2 separate regions of the Homo sapiens genome follow, and region 2 is linked to region 1. The links are contacts of gene promoters, found by promoter capture Hi-C in human tissues and cell types (Jung and others, 2019). All regions are on one chromosome and are shown on one strand. Each heading gives the region's core, a stretch centred on a gene start or on the middle of the fragment in contact. The rest is flanking DNA. Distances are from core to core; before and after follow the strand shown.

Region 1 (6,846 bases), core at 1,488-3,987:
AGTCTCTTTTCTGTACTCGCCTCTCCCATTAGCTGTTGTTTCTGACTCCTGGGAAGGATAAAGTCTAGGGGATGGGGTGGCGGGTGGGTACACACCTTTATCTGGCTGGGTTTATGGTGATCTGATTCTGGTGCTTTCTGGCTTAGACATGCTCAAGGCTGATTGTTTCTCTTAGAGGGAACTTTTTGTGGTATCTTGGAGATTCTCCTTGCTGGCATCCTCCACATGCAACTCCCATGAGACAAGAGATATCTCTTCTCCAGTTTGGAAGGTAAGGATGCCACTGCGTTCTTTGGGGGGTCTGTGTGCTGAATCATTTAGCTCCTCCGGGAAGTCTCTTGGGCACATTCCCTTTGAAGAAAACTTCCAGTCCACTCTCCACAGATCTATTTATCCCTTGGGGAAAAAATGTCACACGATTCCCCCACAGTTAACTCCTGCAGCAGGCTTCTCTCTCCTTCTCTCTGTCTCTTTTTCTGCCCTGCCACCTCAGGTCCTCCTAGGGACGGCTTCTCAGAGCAGTCCTTACGCTTCCCAAACTCTCAGATCAAAAGTTCTCAGAGTATTTCCCTGAAATGCATTCTTTTCACAGAAATCTTTTCTCTTAATTTGCATCTTTAATTTTTTCATACTTTATCTCTTCCTTGAGACAGGGTCTTGCTCTGCCACCCAGGCTGGAGTACAGTGACACCATCATAGCTCACTGCAGCCTCCACCTCCTAGGCTCAAGAGATCCTCCCACCTCAGCCTCCCAAGTAGCTGAGACTACAGGTGTGCACCATGCCCAACTATTTTTTAATTTTTTTTGGAGATGGGGGTCTCATTATGTTGCCCAGGCTGGTCTTGAACTTCTGGGCTCAAGTGATCCCCTTGCCTCAGCCTCCCAAGGTGTTGGGATTATAGACATGAGCCATCATGCCCAGCCGATTTTTCACACTTTAAAGGTGGGCATTGGCAAAAGGCACAAAAATTAGATTTCAGATTTCCCTTTGGCAAGTCCTGCATAATATGGGTCTTGTATCTCTCCTTGGAATGTGGGGGTACTTGGTATCCATTCAAAACTGGTACACTGCATAACTCTCAGGGTCTTATTTAGACAAAATATAACAAGAATAGAGAATATAATGTGAATAGTGCCCCCTGGAAGTGTAAAGCTGCAGGGCTGAGTGTATTGTCCTGGGCCTTTGGAGCTTCAGGTGAATCCTGTTACATGTAATAGTAATAACAGAGCTAGTTATATTGTCACCATGTGCTATGCACTATTTTAGATGCTTTATGTATTTTATTTGATCCTCATAACTATCATATGAGAAAGGTACTATTGTTCATCCCTATTTCACAGGTAAGTAAACTGAAGCCCAAAGAAGCTTCATGACTTGTTCAAGGTCACACAGCAAGCAAGTGGCAGACCTAGAATCCAAACTCAGAATATGGTTCCCAACTCTGTACTTCTAACCCTATTCTATCTTTTTTATTTTTTATTTTTTTGAGACAGACTCTCCCTCTGTCGCCCAGGCTAGAGTGTAGTGGCACGATCTCAGCTCACTGCAGCTTTCGCCTCCCAGGTTCATGTGATTCTCATGCCTCAGCCTCCGGAGTAGCTGCAACCCTATTCTTTTTTCTTTTTTTTTTTTTTTGAGACGGAGTCTCGCTCGGTCACCCAGGCTGGAGTGCAGTGGCGCGATCTCGGCTCACTGCAACCTTCGCCTCCTGGGTTCAAGCGATTCTCCTGCCTCAGCCTCCCGAGTAGCTGGGACTACAGGCATGCACCACCACACCCGGCTTCTTCTGTGTGTGTGTGTGTGTGTGTGTGTGTGTGTATTTTTTGTAGAGAAGGGGTTTCACCGTGTTAGCTAGGATGGTCTCGACCTCCTGACTTCGTGATCCGCCTGCCTCGGCCTCCCAAAGTGCTGGGATTACAGGCGTGAGCCCCCGCGCCCGGCCGCTGCAACCCTATTCTATCTTGCCTGAGGGTTCCACTTTTCTCCATGACACTCTGGGGCAGGCTACAGATAGCACAGCACGCGCCCTCGCATTGCGCAGATGTGGCTCAGATCCCACGCTGCCATTCGGTAGATATGTGTCTTTAGATAAGTGACTTAACTTTCCCGAATTTTAGAGTCCTCATCTAAAGATTCTAATACCTTCCTGACAGAGTGAGTGTCTGGTTGGGAGGATTCCTCATTTACTTTCCCCATCTCTCTGCAAAGAGAAAGGAGTTAAAATTGCATGGAAGTCAAACCCGAAATTATAAAAGCGACATCAAACATGGGTGAAGGGAGGGAGACCTAAATCATTACTTAGTTTAAAAAAAAAATGTAACAAATACCTACTGGCTGCCAGGCACTCACTGGCATTGGTGCTCAGGGCAATGAATCCAGTCCATCTCTCCGGGTCATTCACACACCAAGGCCCTGCTCACCTTTGGAAAGCTGGGGGACTGAGTGGGGAGGGCACGGTGTGGTGTCAGCCTGAGCCCACTGGATGACCCTAATCACCAAACATCTGCTTCCTTCTCTGTAGCTGTGACCCTGATACCGCGTGGTGTGCTCCGAACACATGGTGCCCAGAACGAAGGCGGCGTCCAGAAGCCCTAGGTCCCAGAGGTCCGCTCAGCGGCAGGCGCATAAGGCGGGGCCGGCGCGGGCCTTTCCTTCCATCGGAACCGTTCTCCCGGGGCTGAGTCCCTGCCCGGACTCCGAACGCCGAAGACCAGGGGCCGGAAGCGCGCGCCGCCACTGCCACGCCGTGTCAGTCGGGAGGGAGGGAGCGAGCAGGCGAAGCCGCGGAGGACGGGGTGAAGATGGCGGCCTTCTCCGGTGCGTTTGTGGAAACTCTGGGGGTGGTGGGGCGGCTTGTTGCACGCCTCAGCCCTGGGGCCGCCCGCGGAGAGCTAAAGGGGCGGGAGCGGACAGGGGTCAGGGAGACAGAAGGGCGCTGTCCGCTGCAGTCCCTGATGGACCCGCGTTGCGGGATCAGGGGCGGCCGCGGCTCGGGTTCGGAGGACGATTCTTCCCAGGAGCGGGCCGGAACGTCCCTCCCCCTGCCCTTTCCCTTCTACCAGTCTCCACTTGGCTTTCCTGCCAGTGCACCTTCGGCTGCAAAATCTAGGCGGCGGCGTTGCTCTGGCGGCTCCCAGACGCCTGGGCCTCCTGCCTCTTAACGTGGCAGTGACCCTTTGGGAACCCTTTTCTGCCCGCGGCTCATCTGGGCTTGGCCAGGCAGAGAGGCGAGACGGCGTGGGGAGGAGTCATTGGGGAAAAATGACGATCCTGCCTCTGTCCAGTTTTTTCAGGCCCTTCCAAAACGTCCCAGGCATAAACCTGATCTTTATTTGTTCTTAAACGTTGTTATATCAACATTAATGTTCAGTGTTGAAGCTAAAGGGAAAGCATTTTCATTAACGTACGCACCAGTCCAACATAAGTTTGGAAAATTCATATTTATTTGCCGTCTGCTACCCTCCTTTATTCCAAATATGATTTGATATGGCTTATCGAACCCTACAGTTGATATTTTCGCCTCTTGCTTTATCATCCTCCTGTTAGGCATCCAGTTTTAGGAAGCTGTAATCAGCCTTAAATGCGCTAAACGTGATACATTTATGTAGCACTTATGTAACGTTTATTGCTATATAAATGTATCACGTTAGGCCTAATGTCCTTTAATGTTATTAACTTTTTAAGATGACTTCAGATGTAGTATTTTATATTTTTTAGTTTTCTTCTGTAAGAATATTAGGAATTCCATATCTCCAGTCATGTAAGATATTTTTTTTCTTTTTTGGGGGGGAGAATGGGGGGGTGGGGGGATGTAGTCTCCTTCTGTCGCCCCAGCTGGAGTGCAATGGTGTGATCTTGGCTCACTGCAGCCTCCACCTCCCAGGTTCAAGCAATTCTCCTGCCTCAGCCTCCTGAGTAGCTGGGATTACAGGCGCCTACCACCATGCCCTGCTCATTTTTGTATTATTAGTAGAGACGGGGGTTTCACCATGTTGGCCAGGCTGGTCTCGAACTCCTGACCTCAGGTGATCCGCTCACCTCGGCTTCCCAAAGTGCAACAGTCATGTAAGATTTCTGACTGTTTCAGTTACATCTTCTAATAGGATTCAATTGGAAACTGCTCAGAGTTGTTGCTGTTTTTCTTTTCCCAACATTCTCCTAAAACGATTTTAGAGCCAAGGTCTGTAGGATAGTTCTAGGTAGTCATTTTATAGGTTCACATCTTTGGGAGTCATACACAAATTTCATGAATGTTAGAGGTAAAGGACTGGAAAAAGTCTGTGATATGAAATAAGACAAAACTGGAATTTCACGAATGTTTCTAATTTTTCCTTAACTGTTAAAAGTATTATACTTAAGGTCCGCTTTCAAAGAAAACTTGCAGGGAACATGACCAGAATGGTACAAGAGATTGTCTGGAATTTACTGAAAATGATATGTTGTTTCTTGTATAACAATTTTGCAAAGAGCTTCAGCTTGCAGTATTCCGTATGCAGTAAGAACACACCACTCCTTTGTTTCAAGCAGTTTGCATTTTAGGAGAGAGAACATAGACTGTAATACAGGTTAATTCTTAGGAAGGTCTGCCTGGATATTCAACTTTAGATCTTCATTAGTTTATCTGTGGCTTTTTTTTTTCCTGAGATTAAGAGCTAGGAAAGTCGCCAGGTGCAGTGGCTTATGCCTGTAATCCCAGCACTTTGGGAGTCCAAGGTGGGCAGATCACGAGGTCAGGAGATTGAGACCATCCTGGCTAACACAGTGAAACCCCGTCTCTACTAAAAATATGAAAAAAAATTAGCGGGCGTGGTGGCATGCGCCTGTAGCCCCAGCTCCTCGGGAGGCTGAGGCAGGAGAATTGCTTGAATCTGGGAGACGGAGTTTGCAGTGAGTGGAGATCATGCCCCTACACTCCAGCCTGGGTGACAGAGTGAGACTGTCTCAAAAAAAAACAAAAGAAAAGAAAAAAAAGAAAAAGAGTTAGGAGAGCCTTCTTTGAAAATGATGATCCTTCTCATCTGATGCAAAGAAAAAGCTACATAATTTTATGAAGAATATTTTCAGTTTGTATGTTTGCTTTATGCCTTTTCACAATGGCAAGAAATACAGAATTTCAGAATTGGTTATTTCTGGGGCTTGGGAATGTTTGATTCTTGTTCTTTTTTTTATAGGAATATATATTTTTATGATAAAGCTATATTTTATAAATACAGACTTAAAATAAAAATCACTTGTCTTTTGGAAGGAAAGTTTAAGTAATCCAACTAACTACTCCATATATAATTACCCTCTACAGTTCATATGAGAAATGATAAAATGACAAAACCCGGTTAGGAGCAACTCATCTCTATTCATTTAGGATGGGCCTTGAAGTAGAATTATTGAGATATGTATACAGTTAAGAACTCAGCAGTTCTTCAGCTGACATTTCCAGGTGCCCACGTTTTCACCACTGACCCCTCCCTCTTCAGTTATTCAGAATTTTGATTATGGCTGCCAATAAATGTGGGTGCTCGCCACTTGTCTATTCATTTTTTTCCAATTGCTGAGGGTATTCACATGGTCCTAGAATAGCCAAGGCACATAACTGCCACATTGTCTCTAAATGCAACAACCCTGTCTATTCTTGGCAGACTTTTCACGAGTCATGAGAGGTAAACAGGCACTGTAGTGGCTACAGTTTATTAGGTGACAACCATGCTCCAGTTGCATTACATGATTATCTCTGGTCTTCATATAGCCCTGCAAGGTAGGCAATATCAGCCCCATTTTGTGTGGAGAAAACAGATTTATAGCTTTGCCTAAGGTCACTTGCTAATAAGTGAGAACTTAGATTTGAACTCAGGTCTTTCTCCAGAACTTGTGCTCTTTCAACAGTGCCACGCTCAGTAGATTTGATGTAACTGAGCTATCCTTCAAAATCTTTACCCTGTTTTATGAATAGTAATTTTGAGAGCAATGCAATTTATCATTTCAGTTTATGTGGTTTTTAAAATTAATTTTTACTTTCAGAGATGGGTGTAATGCCTGAGATTGCACAAGCTGTGGAAGAGATGGATTGGCTGTAAGTACATAAAGCCTAAATGTACCTGGGAGAGGATGTTTTATAATTTAAACAGTTGTTAGTGATTTTATCAAATATTTTTGTGTCTAGTTGGGTAAGTGAAAATCAGGTTTTTTTTGTGATTTTCTAAATTATGGAAAGTTTCCTTTTTTTAACCTTGACATATTTCTAGTGGAATAAGATGGATCGTATTTACCACGTAAAATTTTCTTTTAGGCAAATTAACGTGACTTAATTTGCTTAGGCGATTTTTTTCCCCAGTAACTAAAATTCTTCAAATATGATTCTTTTAGCCTCCCAACTGATATCCAGGCTGAATCTATCCCATTGATCTTAGGAGGAGGTGATGTACTTATGGTAAGTTTAAATTTGGTGAGGTGATTGGTAGCTGGGGACACACTCTAAGAATTGCATAGGCTTACAAATGCTACTTTACCTTTATTCACAAACATTTATGATACATATACTGTATTCAGACTATTAGGTAAAAGCTTCAAACAGGTAAGTATTTACTCCTGAGAAGCTTAAACCCACTAGGGCAATAAGACATGTATAAGAATGAATCTCGTATCAGAGAGAATGTGGCTTCTTCGTAAGAGATGCAGAGTAGTATAGAATTCAAGTGGGAATCCAGTTGTCCTTTTGCTTGAAGGATCATAGGGACTGCTTAAAGGAAGTAGATTTCTTTTTTTTTGTTTTTGTTTTTTGGAAAAGGCCAAGCTCTGTTGCCCAAGCTGGAGTGCAGTGGTGTGTTTATAGTTCACTGCAGCCTCAAACTCC
Region 2 (6,846 bases), core at 1,097-3,596, 700 kb before region 1:
AGACAGGAGGCAGCAATGATCAATAAACAAGCAAGCAAACCTCAAGGTCACATCAAGAAAATGTTGCAACTTGAGACCAAAGCATAAACCAAATTGGGTCCCCACACCTGTGGCACAATGGGCTCACAGGGCGACATAGATCAAGACCACGTAGGACACCTGAGTTCTCTTCCCTGTCCGACAACTAATTTTCTGCATACTTTTTAAATCGCTTCTCTTCCAAGGAAATCCATTTCCTCTTCTATGCAATGATGTGTTTATATTATACCGACTCTATGGCTGCTATTTAATTTAACTATTCTTCTAGTCCTAGTTAACTTAGTCGTATTTAGGAATTTCTGCCTAGCTTTAACAAAGGTCTTTTCAGCATCGATTGATTAAATCAATATGCTCTTTTTTTTTTTCTTCTCTTTCATTTTGTAGACATAATAACTAACGTATTATGTTTATGGATTTTTCTGGTATCAAATCGTCTTTGTATTTCTGGGATAAACCTGTTTGTCATAGTGTATTACTTTTTGAATACTCTGTTTGGATTCGATTTTTATCATCTTATTTAGACTTGTAGCAAGTTTATTCCTAACATTAGTCTCCTATTTCCTTTTATTTTATTTTATTCTTTGTCCTTCCTTACAGGATTAGACCACATTTGCTTAAGTGAATCAAAGAAATCTTTCTCTAAAGCCTAGAATAATTTACTTAATATTAGACTCACCTGTTCTCTAATGGTTAGCTAAAACTCAGCTGTGAAACCATTGCTTCATAATGTTTTTAAATATTTATTGATTATTAATCTTCTGTTTTTTACAGTAGTTGGATTCTTCAGCTTTTCTACTTGTTCTTGAGTCAGTTTTGGTCATTTACATTTTGTAAGAAAATAAAGTTGCATGTTTTCAGGCAATGAAGTTGCATGTACATGTGACTGTCACCTTTTCATTTCTAATTACAAACATTTTTATTCCCTCTTTTCCTTCATCAGATTTTTGAAGACCATGATCTAATTTTTTTGTCTTTTCAAGAAAACTGCTTTTGGATTTATTTGTCCTTTCTGCTTATTGTTTTGCTTTTTATATTATTTGTTTCAACTTCTATCTTTAATATTTTCTTCTTCCTAGTTTTTGTTACATTTTCTAATTCTTTTTCTAATTTTTAAGATGGATTTCTTTCTTTTTGTCTTTCTTCTATAAAACAAATATGTTTGCAGCTATAAATTTTCCTTTGAAGTCACTCTTAACTGTATCTCAATTTTGGCAGGAAGTACATGCTGTTTTTCTCCATCTGTACTCACTAGACTCATTCTTACCTTTTTCTGTTCTACTCTGTGCTCCTGGAACCCTTCCTTCATGGACTGTATCACCTCGGTTCTCTTGCTGAATAACTTTCAGTGGATTTTGGCCAATGGAAGGCAGCCGTGGGAAATCAGAGAACAGGAGAAAAGAGTTCTGCCCTACTCCCCACCCCAGTCCATCCTAGCAGTTTTTGCAGTGTTAATTGCTACATTTCTTCCAGGTACCATCTCATCCAGTGCACACTGTATTCCTCTAGCATGATTTACTCACCTTGTCCCTTCAAGCTTAGGGGTGACAACAGCTTCCCATTGTTGCCAGTCTTTGCAATGTTCCTTAATTCTGCCCAAACCTTTGAAAATAATCACTTTAGTAAAATCTATTCTGTTGAACCATCTGAATAGAGTTCTGCTTCCTGCTGGGATTGATACAAAATATTTATTGTGTGTAAATGGCTTATTATTTCAAAATTGATTTCTTCTTTTATCCAGTATCAAGTCTTACTTAGGAGTATATTTCTTAATTACCAAAAGTTAAGACTCTATCAGTGTTATTTTTTGTTACCTTTAGACTTACAGAGACTCAAAAATACATAGCTTTCATACATACCTTCTCAGAAAGCTACTAAAGAATGTGCTCCATCAAGATGAGAGAGTAAACCAAGAAAGAATATGTGAGATCCAGAAAACAGGGGATCCAACAGGCAGGAGGCAGAGGCTTCCCGATGATTGGAAAGGAAGTTTTCAGATGCCAGTGATGCAATCCAGAATGGAGCAGGAGTACAGGGGGGCACCAAGAGGATGTTTTTAATAACAAAATATAGAAACCTGGAACTGATATCTTATCTGATATGTTTGACTGCATTGACAGAAGATTTATAGGGTATTTTGAAGAGTTTGAAAAAATATGAGTGCTAGATACCATGATAGCCATGCAAATGAAAGAAATAAGTAATCATTAACTAACAGAAATGTAAAATATATATATAAATATAAAATATAATATGACTCCTCTGTGAGCAATGTTTATATAATCATAGTAATATAAACACTGAATATTGATTTAACCAAAAACTGGAATACTGCCATATTGAAGGGAAGGAGGAGAGAATGAATAAGCGTTGAGAGGGGTCACAAGGACTCTAAGTCCTTAATTCCACAGCAGAACATCAATGCACAAAATATAAATTGATAAATCAAAAACTGGCATAATAGGCCGGGCACGGTGGCTCATGCCTGTAATCCCAGCACTTTGGGAGGCTGAGGTGGGCGGATCACGAGGTCAAGAGATCGAGACCATACTGGCTAACATGGTGAAACTCCGTCTCTACCAAAAAATACAAAAATTAGTTGGGCGTGGTGAAGCGCCTATGGTCCCAGGTACTCGGGAGGCTGAGGCAGGAGAATCACTTGAATCCGGAAGGCAAAGGTTGCAGTGAGCTGAGATCACGTCACTGCACTCCAGCCTGGTGACAGAGCGAGACTCCAACTCAAAAACAAAAACAAAAAGGCATAATAACCATATTATTTGGGAATTAGGAGGTAAATACCAGAAGCTCACAAAACTGAAAGAAGTTTATTCTAGGAAGCAGGATCCAGGTGTATAAAGAGAGGGAAGGATCCAGGTGTGTAGAAGAGAGGGACAGATAACTGTTGTGTTGTTGTTGTGGTTGTGTAATAAGTCTTATTATTCTATTTGACTTTTTAAACTATGTGAATATATTACTTTGACAAGAAGGTAAATATTTACTTATAAAAATCCTAGAAGAAAACCTAGAAAAAAAACTCTTCTAGACATTGGACGAGTCAAAGAATTTATGATTAAGACCTCAAAAGCAAATGCAACGAAAACAAAAATAGACAAATGAGACTTAAACTAAAAAGCTTCTGCACAGGCAGGGCACTGTGGCTCACGCCTGTAATCCCAGCACTTTGGGAGGAAAAGGCGGGTGGATCACAAGGTCAGGAGATGGAGACCATCCTGGCTAACACGGTGAAACCCCATCTCCACTAAAAATACAAAAAAATTAGCCGGGTGTGGTAGCGGGCGCCTGTAGTCCCAGCTACTTGGGGAGGCTGAGGCAGGAGAATGGCGTGAACCCGGGAGGTGGAGCTTGCAGTGAGCTGAGATCGCGCCACCGCACTCCAGCCTGGGTGACAGAGCGAGACTCCGTCTCAAAAAAAAAAAAAGCTTCTGCAAAGAAAAAGAAATAATCAACAGACAACCTACAGAATGGGTACGCTTGGATACACGAGGGTAATAATAAACACTGAGGACATCAAAAGGGGAGAGGGAAGATGACGGGTAAGGACTGAAGAATTACCTACTTGGTACAATATTAACTATTCAGGTGATGGGCACACTAGAAGCCCAAACCTCACCATGACACAATATATCTATGAAACAAACCTGCACGTGTTACCTCCTGAGACTATAAAGGGGAAAAAAAAACGAAGATAAATGTTTAAAATACAGAATAAGAAAACTAAGAATCTCTGCTTTCCTTTGTCAGGCAACCATGAACAAAACAACAAAATTAATCCGGGAGAAGAGAGCCCATAACCACGTAGTACAAATTACCTGAATCGGCCCCTATTTCTCAATCTCAGTAGTCCACTGGCCCAGTTTCCAGGGAGGCTCTTTAACACAAGCAGGAAAGGCAGTAGAGCCTCACTTTGCCCTCAAAATATTAGAGGCCTTTCTTCAGCTCAGCCAATACGCTATGTAATGTATTAATAATATCAATGTTCATTGTATTCCAAATGCCAAACTAGTATGTGTATTAAGCCTTTTTCAAATTTGATAATTGACTGCTTGAAATTTAAGAGCGGTTTTATTCTGTTTCTCACAGCAATTTAATTTTTCCCTTAGTCATTCTCCCTCCTACGCCCCCACACTGAACAAATCTTCCTTCCTCCGTGTTATGGGGGGAATGGCTCCATAGCATAAATCTGGAAGCCGATCCTAAGCGCAAGGAACCAATTAGCTGCTAAGAAACACACTGCAGAGTTCTCTTGCCATTTTTTTTTTCCCTGAGATTTTGTGTTGTAATCATAGCCCTGCAAAACCAGGAGCACTGACTGTACATCAGTACTGCAGCTGCTACCGCCTTCTTTCTGGACTTTGAGGGCCTCGTTAAGGGTACAGAAGACAGGGAGCCCAGGCCAGTGAGTGAAGAAGTCTGCAGGCCATTGCAAAGAAGAAGCTGGTATTTAACAGCTGGGGAACAAATCACCGTGAACAACTATTGTTCATTTACCATAATGTCTCTGTTGATAATGTATAAGCATTTTAATGTAAATATTCTACTTTTTGTTAAAAATTTGCATAACATTTGATCACATAACCTGAATGCAAAAGAAGAGCCTCTAGTTCAGAGATTCGCAAGTCCTAGTTGGAGGCCCCTACTAGAGCTGCATGGAAATATCTCAGGAGCTTCTGTGGCTGTCAGGGGAGGGGAGCAGTAATTCGTGAGCCCCTAAAAGCCTGAGCCGTTCCTCTTTTTTTTTTTTTCCATCATTTTACACATGGGAAAAACGAAGGCCTCCAGGAAGAAGGAAGAAATTTGCCCAGTATCACACAGCGAGCAGGTGGCAAAGCTGGAACCAAACACAGGTCTCCTGATTCCTGCTTCAGTATTTTCACAGCTGTCTTTTCCTGCCTTTCTTATTTTTGGTGCTTTTCTCCTTATCAAAACTAAAAATGTATTCCTTTTTAGAGCGCTATGGAGATGTTACTTCTAGGCATTTCCCCTAAGGAGAGAAGTTTGATAAATTATTTAAATATCCACTTTTCTCTGCTAAAATGTATACTGTGTTTTTCTCTAGGTAAAATGTGAAAACACTTATTTTACCAAGCCATTTATATGCACCATTTTTCTTCTCAAAAGCTTCCCCTCTCCCATATCCATTGCTTTGTAAACCCCAAGGACGTTATAATGAAATATTGATTGTCCTCTCTCTTGTCTTCACCCTGGTCTAATGCCCCTATAGCTTCAGAATAATTTTGGTTGAGGAAGTACTAATTCAGAAATGTGTTTCTACATTTGGCTTTTTTTTTTTTTTCCAAAGACAGCACACAATATTGGCCAGGGAGTGTGCACCAGCATCTCAGCACATCAGCTCCTCTTTGCAGCATCTCCTGTTGAGACATCACATCTCATCAGCAGCAAGGATGTTGAATTTCTGGCCTCAGAAGGGATCTTTCCATTCTCAGGAGATGACAAGTTTATTAAGAAGGCGGTGGTTAACAATGAGACTGTGGTCTTTGGAAGTGAGGAGGAACTGTCTGGGCCTCCATTATAAGAGGGACACGGTTGGCTCCTGGGAAGACTGGGGGTTATTTGCCCTCATAGCACATCCTAAGGCTTGATGTTGGACACTTTCCTGGCTGGGCCAGAGTGAGGTGGGGAGCAATGCTGAGGAGGGTCCCAGTGTTTGTTCAAAATAGTAGGAGTTTTGGTCTGCTGAAATTTGTTCCAGGTTTAGAATCAGAAGAACCTAGGCTTAAAGGCCTTTCCATGGCCTACAGACTCCGCTAACTTGGACAATTTAATTTGCCTTTGCTTATATTTCTTATAAACTAGAGATAAATAAGGACTGCCTTTTTATTGATTTTGTGAGGATTTAATCAGCTAATTCACATTAAATGCTAACATGTGCTTGCAGATCCTTAGGAAATGTAAAGCCTCTCTCTTCCTTGAAAAGGTGAAAAATAATGTTGGTGTTTCTAAGGAGACACAGGGTAGCTTTTCCTAGTAAGACTTGAGAGGTGCTAGGGAAATCAATTTCCCATGGCTAGTCATTATGAAATGGACCCATATGTGAAGTTATACCCATTAAAAACAACAAATGGCAGAAAGGAGAGAGAAAGAGAGGGTTTCAGACTAGAAGAGCTATTCTGTGTTTCTAAGCCGCATAGTAAGTCACTTGATATGGTTTGGCTCTCTGTCCCCACCCAAATCTCATCTTGAATTATACTCTCATAATTCCCACATGTTGTGGGAGGGACCCAGTGGGAGATAACTGAATCCTGGGGGTGGTTTCCCCCACACTGTTTTCTTGGTAGTGAATAAGTCTCACAAGATCTGATGGTTTTATCAGGGGTTTCTGCTTTTATGTCTTCCTCATTCTCTCTTTGCCTGCTGCCATCCATATAAGACCGAACTTGTTCCTCCTTGTCTTCCACCATGATTATGAGGCTTCCCCAGCCATGTGGAACTGTAAGTTCAATTAAATCTCTTTCCTTTCTAAACTGTCCAGTCTCAGGTATGTCTTTATCAGCAGTGTAAAAATGAACCTGGACCTTACTATTGTCTCTATGGTTCTGTAGCTTGAGTTCTAGTTGGAACTATTGTGTCTACGTTTCTGTAGTTTGGGAACTTTTATGGGCCTCACTTGGGGTCTCTCATGTGGTTTCAGTCATATGGTGGCTAAATGGGTCTCATCTGGAAGCTCCACCTGGAAACTAGGGTGGCCAGGCATTTCCTCCCCCAGTGGTCTCTCCAGCAGGGTGGCTGGACTTCTTAGGTGGCAGCTCTGTGTTCCCAAAAAGCAGGAGA

Evidence for each region. Contacts are between HindIII fragments. The study calls those that stand out against the background at their distance.
Region 2: a fragment that was not itself captured here is called in contact with the fragment with the promoter of DDX1 in region 1 in 1 of the 25 tissues and cell types used here (lymphoblastoid cells).

Annotation. Positions count from the first base shown.
Region 1 is chr2:15,589,131-15,595,976 of GRCh38, forward strand. It overlaps DDX1 (DEAD-box helicase 1), which reads left to right and starts at 2,738. Exons shown (of 26, transcript NM_004939.3): 1 at 2,738-2,819; 2 at 6,015-6,066; 3 at 6,360-6,423. The coding sequence starts at 2,804. It overlaps LOC124905975 (a long non-coding RNA gene), which reads right to left and starts at 2,639. Exons shown (of 2, transcript XR_007086224.1): 1 at 2,330-2,639; 2 at 1-2,202. RefSeq lists an enhancer at 2,777-2,836. The HindIII fragment of the contact is 10,803 bases long and covers 1-6,846 here.
Region 2 is chr2:14,892,278-14,899,123 of GRCh38, forward strand. It overlaps a transcript of NBAS not described here. Among named protein-coding and RNA genes, the nearest start is that of LRATD1, 260 kb to the left of the region's middle. The HindIII fragment of the contact is 3,958 bases long and covers 368-4,325 here.